Regions from separate parts of the Homo sapiens genome. Here region 2 is linked to region 1. The links are contacts of gene promoters, found by promoter capture Hi-C in blood cells and fetal thymus (Javierre and others, 2016). All regions are on one chromosome and are shown on one strand. Each heading gives the region's core, a stretch centred on a gene start or on the middle of the fragment in contact. The rest is flanking DNA. Distances are from core to core; before and after follow the strand shown.

Region 1 (2,556 bases), core at 29-2,528:
ATTGAGTGTCTGCTATGTATGTAACAAGCACTGTGGATACATCATTACACAAGACAGATTCTCCATCTCCCCAGCAGACATTTCCGTGTGTGTGTGTGTGTGTGTGTGTGTGTGTGTGTGTCTGTGTGTGTGTGGCGGGGAGAGGGCACAATACAGAGTAAACAATAAATAAAGTTATATAATATAGCAGAGGGAATTTAGTACTAGGAAGGACATAAAGCCAACGAGGGAGATAAGGTGGCGGGGGTGGAATTTTAAATCAGCTGGAGCATATGTATGAAAGTGGGCCGGGCGCGGTGGCTCACGCCTGTAATCCCAGCACTTTGGGAGGCTGAGGCGGGCGGATCACCTGAGGTCAGGAATTGAGACCAGCCTGGCCAACACGGTGAAACCCCGTCTCTACTAAAAATACAAAAATTAGCTGGGCGTGATGGCGTGCGCCTGTAGTCCCAGCTTCTTGAGAGGCTGAGGCAGAAGAACTGCTTGAACTCGGGAGGCGGGGGTTGCAGTGAGCCGAGATAGTGCCACTGCACTCCAGCCTGGCGACAGAGTGAGACTCCGTCTGAAAGAAAAGAGGAAAGGAGAGGAAAGGAGAAGAGAAAAGAAAAGAGAAAAGAAAAAAAGAAAAGAGGCCAAGTGTTTCCCGTAGAGATACTGTGTATTGGGGGGGCGCACAGGGGTGCCACGAATTGAGCTGCCCACTCCTTCCAGATGCAGGGTTCTCACCCGGGTAGGTGAGAACGGGGTGAGGGGGAGGAATCACGCGTGGGTGGCTGGATTAGTTCCTGATGTCCTCTGATTCCCTACAGCTTCTTCAGCCCCGTTCTAACCCCCTTCCTCAGGCTTACAAGAAAGTGTGTGGAAGAGAGACACGGAGAGACTGAGCATTAGACTTTTTTGGAAGAAACATCAGTAAATGAAAATGGAATTACAATAAAAATAACAAAAGCAATAAACTCCTGACCTCAGTCACAATCATTTTAGTTAACACGCCAGTCCTAATAACAAACACGAGTCCCTGAGACCGCAACCCCTCGGGCACCGCAGGGCGTGCAGGTCTGGGCGGGCGGCGCAGCCTCCCCTGGCGGCTGACCCTGGGAGCGCGGGGAGCGCCAAGCCTCTTCTAGCGCTCACCTCGCGCTCACTCCTGCGCTCGCCGGGCTGCTTGTGCGGGGAAGGGGCGGGGCCCGCCTGGGCTCCTCCCCGGTCGGAGCCCGGAGCAAGGGGGCAGAGCGCGCCGGGCGCTGGTTAAAGAGGCGTGCGGAGGCGGGCGCGGCGCATACTGCTAGTGGCGCGCGGAGGAGCGACGCGTGGAGAAGCGGCCCACGTGTCTGCCCAGAGTCAAGTCCTGTGTTCTTCCCGCTCCTTACGCATCCGCGGTCCAGGGCGCCCTTTCAGCCCCGCTGGTGTTCGCCCACCCCGGGCCGCGTGAGTGGGGCCCCACGCAGCTCCCCGCACTCCGTGGGCCAACTTGGCCAAGCAACTCTGTCCGGGGAGCGGTGCTTGCGGGGGGTGAGTACCGGGCACTGCGCATGCGGAGCTCCAAATTCAAACAGCTGTTTTCAGAGGCTGGAGGGCGGGCGGACTGGTAGCAGCTGGGGCTAGGAGAGGCTTTCTCTAGGAGGCGGCCGCTCGGGAGCCATGGTGGACCGGGGCCCTCTGCTCACCTCGGCCATCATCTTCTACCTGGCCATCGGGGCGGCGATCTTCGAAGTGCTGGAGGAGCCACACTGGAAGGAGGCCAAGAAAAACTACTACACACAGAAGCTGCATCTGCTCAAGGAGTTCCCGTGCCTGGGTCAGGAGGGCCTGGACAAGATCCTAGAGGTCAGTCGCCGCCTGTACCCCCATATACATCTGAAGCTGGCTTGAGCTTTAGGGGGCGCTGAAAGGAAGACCCCTTCACAGCTTTGGGTGACCCTCAGTCCCTGTGGAAGGTCCAGGGGGTGATGAGAGAGCGTGTCTCATCATGGGTCAGGCTTCGAGGATCTGTCGCTCACCCGAGGGACACAGGGGTCCCCCAGGCGCGGAGACTCTTTGGAACTTAGTTTGGCCGGAGACAAATTGGAGTTGATTCCCGGGTGAACTAGGCTCCACGGTGTTTCAGTGTGGGTGTGACGGTACCTCCCTCCTTGGGAAGAGGCTGTGGGACGGATAAAGGCGTTTATCTTTCCCTGGAGACGCTCCCGGAGTCTGGGAGCCAAGCCTGGTGCCATCCCCTCGTGTCTCCACCTCCCCGCTCCAGGGCCAGTGCCACGCCTGCCAGGCTTTTCTTAAGGAACGTGAACCCGGCAGAGTGGCGGGAGGGTCCCTCAGCCCGAGCCTGGGCAAAATCTTCCGCCCCCAGCAGAGTTCCGGAGAGGAGCTGGAGGCTCTGTGGGGCCCGAACCCACGGGATGAGGGCTGGTGCCTGGAATGCTGGGGACGCGCTCAGGCTTCCGGGAAGGCTTATCTCGCGGAGACATCCTTCAAGGGCTTGGAGTAAAACTTTGTGAAAGTAGCAGGTTGCACAAACGAATAATACCCGCGTAGTCCCTTTATGATGGGGGAGGAGAG
Region 2 (2,556 bases), core at 57-2,556, 88 kb before region 1:
CAGGCTCAGCCTGCAAGGAACTTCCAGTCCAACAAAGAGGAACATGATAAATACACAAAAAAAAGTAATAGAAAACAAAGTCGATAATTACATAGCAATGACATAAAACACTATGGGGAACCACACCCAGAAGGGAGAAGGAAATCGGCAGTCAGGAGGGCTTCATGGAGGCAGAGTCATTTGAGATGGGCCTTCAAAGATGAGCAGGAGTCCTATAAATAAAAATCATTCCAGCAGAGTTCATGGGAACAGGGGAGCTTCCCCTTCTCACCCCCAGAGGTGGTGACAGACAAACCTCAGCTAGAGTCTGGGGAAGAGGAGCAGAGGGCGTTCTAGAGTCTCCATATTTGCACACGCCCCCCTTCCCTTGCAGGATATGGGAACCTGGCACCCAGCACAGAGGCAGGTCAGGTCTTCTGTGTCTTCTATGCCCTGTTGGGCATCCCGCTTAACGTGATCTTCCTCAACCACCTGGGCACAGGGCTGCGTGCCCATCTGGCCGCCATTGAAAGATGGGAGGACCGTCCCAGGCGCTCCCAGGTATGCCCCCTAACTCCCTTACAGGCCTGCTGTGACAGATCTGTTGCAAGTGGAGTTCCCCAGAAGCCGATGCTGAGATGGAGTTTGGCATGCATGGTGTTAGGGGTAGATGCCTGTGAAAGAGGAAGGGTGAAGGCAGGGTTGGGCAGAGTGGGGAGTTGGATCTCTATGCATGCTCTACAAAGGCTTGGCCCCAAGGAGCTCTACAGCATGTGAGAGCTGTCAGAGTTGTCCCACAGTGGGCGGAACCAGCCAGGTTTTCATACCTGCCTCAATCAGGCACTGGGTGTGGCCTTCCCAGGAAGGGTATGCCCCTAGGCCAGGAGGTTCTCTGCAGCTGAACACCCTGAAGGAGCTGGCAGCTGGCCCACCGTCCTCCTTTAAGTGAGGGATCTCTGTAGCACATCTTCAAGGTCATCACAGAACTCCAACATCCTTTTGTGCAGTAGCAAACAAGCTCTGCAGGCTGCCCAGCATGCCCTCAGTGCCCACCCTTGGCCAGCCACTTGCAAGGCCAGAAATACGCAGACAGTTCAATGATACTTTTCTGTTCCAGATCTGAGTCCCCAGGGAGCCTGTTCAAGTGTGATCCCCAAGTCCAAAGGGGTCTCCAAATCGCTTCTTGACCCACTAACGCAATCCCTCTGCCGAAATCTTTCCCTGGGTGGGACAAGGTCATGCACACATAGATACAACCTCCACCTCGAGGGTCTGCAGTGCAGGAAAGGGTCCTAGCTATGGCCCAGTCCCATTCCCATGTTTACCCCAGACTCCCCCCAACCTCATACAATCCTGGAGACTTTCAAGTGGACTCAGAGGCCAACTCCCTCCCTCCTAGGTACTGCAAGTCCTGGGCCTGGCTCTGTTCCTGACCCTGGGGACGCTGGTCATTCTCATCTTCCCACCCATGGTCTTCAGCCATGTGGAGGGCTGGAGCTTCAGCGAGGGCTTCTACTTTGCTTTCATCACTCTCAGCACCATTGGCTTTGGGGACTATGTTGTTGGTGAGAACAAAACAGTCACATTATCTCAGGGTGGGGGTGCCCACTGGGATTTGGGGGATGGAGAGATGTCAGCTGAGGACAACTATTGAGGATAAGATAGCCCTTGGTCATTCAAGGGAGCCAAACCAATGATTTCTGGGACTACTGTGGATTCTAAGCAACATTCTCAGAAGTTTCTGGTCTAGGACCCATCACCACCCTGCAGAGACCTACCTCAACTGCTGTTCCTTGTTATGAGGAAGAGGGAGAGAGCATCCTGGCTGGTGAGGGTCCCTATGGAAACTGGAGGTGGCTATGCCCTGAGACCCCTGGCATTGATGCCATTCCCTTCCCTGGCAGGCACAGACCCCAGCAAGCATTATATCTCAGTGTATCGGAGCCTGGCAGCCATCTGGATCCTCCTGGGCCTGGCGTGGCTGGCGCTGATCCTCCCACTGGGCCCCCTGCTTCTGCACAGATGCTGCCAGCTCTGGCTGCTCAGTAGGGGCCTCGGCGTCAAGGATGGGGCAGCCTCTGACCCCAGTGGGCTCCCCAGGCCTCAGAAGATCCCCATCTCTGCATGAGGCCCCCGGGGGGGGCCCAGAAACCCCTTTCATCCTCCCCAGTCCCACCCTATCTGCTCTCTGGATTTCCAGCCCTGCTTTCTCCTCTCCCAACCCCCTCACTTCTCAGCCAGGGCTGGTCTCAGGAGCTCTCCCAAGAGAGAAAGGAGACAGGTATATCCAAGAAAGTAACAGAGAGGAGACGTGAGATAGGATTAAAGACATGTGTGGATGGGGAGGTGTACCCTTGTCCCAGAGCCCCTGCCACAGCCTTCCACCCAAAGGTAGTGGCCAGATCTCCACTGCCCTCCCCATGCCCCCTTCCAGGAGACCTTACACAAACAAAGGATGACTTTACTTTTGCCTCATTTGATATGTGCACAGTGCATTTGCCAAGCCCCTACTATGTGCCAGGTGCTGTGCCAGGGTCTGTGCCAGGGTCTGGGGATACAGCAGTGGAAGTGCCTGCC

What was found. The method cuts DNA at HindIII sites, captures the fragments that hold promoters and counts their contacts. A CHiCAGO score of 5 or more calls a contact.
Region 2: a fragment that was not itself captured here is called in contact with the fragment with the promoter of KCNK5 in region 1 in 1 of 17 cell types (megakaryocytes); the score reaches 5.1 in megakaryocytes.

The regions. Positions count from the first base shown.
Region 1 is chr6:39,228,197-39,230,752 of GRCh38, reverse strand. KCNK5 (potassium two pore domain channel subfamily K member 5) reads left to right here and starts at 1,278. Exons shown (of 5, transcript NM_003740.4): 1 at 1,278-1,827. The coding sequence starts at 1,642. RefSeq lists an enhancer at 1-700 and silencers at 988-1,337, 1,438-1,517, 2,531-2,556. The HindIII fragment of the contact is 7,595 bases long and covers 1-2,556 here.
Region 2 is chr6:39,315,770-39,318,325 of GRCh38, reverse strand. It overlaps KCNK16 (potassium two pore domain channel subfamily K member 16), which reads left to right. Exons shown (of 5, transcript NM_001135106.2): 3 at 374-540; 4 at 1,379-1,544; 5 at 1,884-2,155. The coding sequence ends at 2,107. The region is part of intron 1 of LOC105375047 (a long non-coding RNA gene); the gene reads right to left. Among named protein-coding and RNA genes, the nearest start is that of KCNK17, 2.6 kb to the right of the region's middle. The HindIII fragment of the contact is 3,058 bases long and covers 1-2,556 here.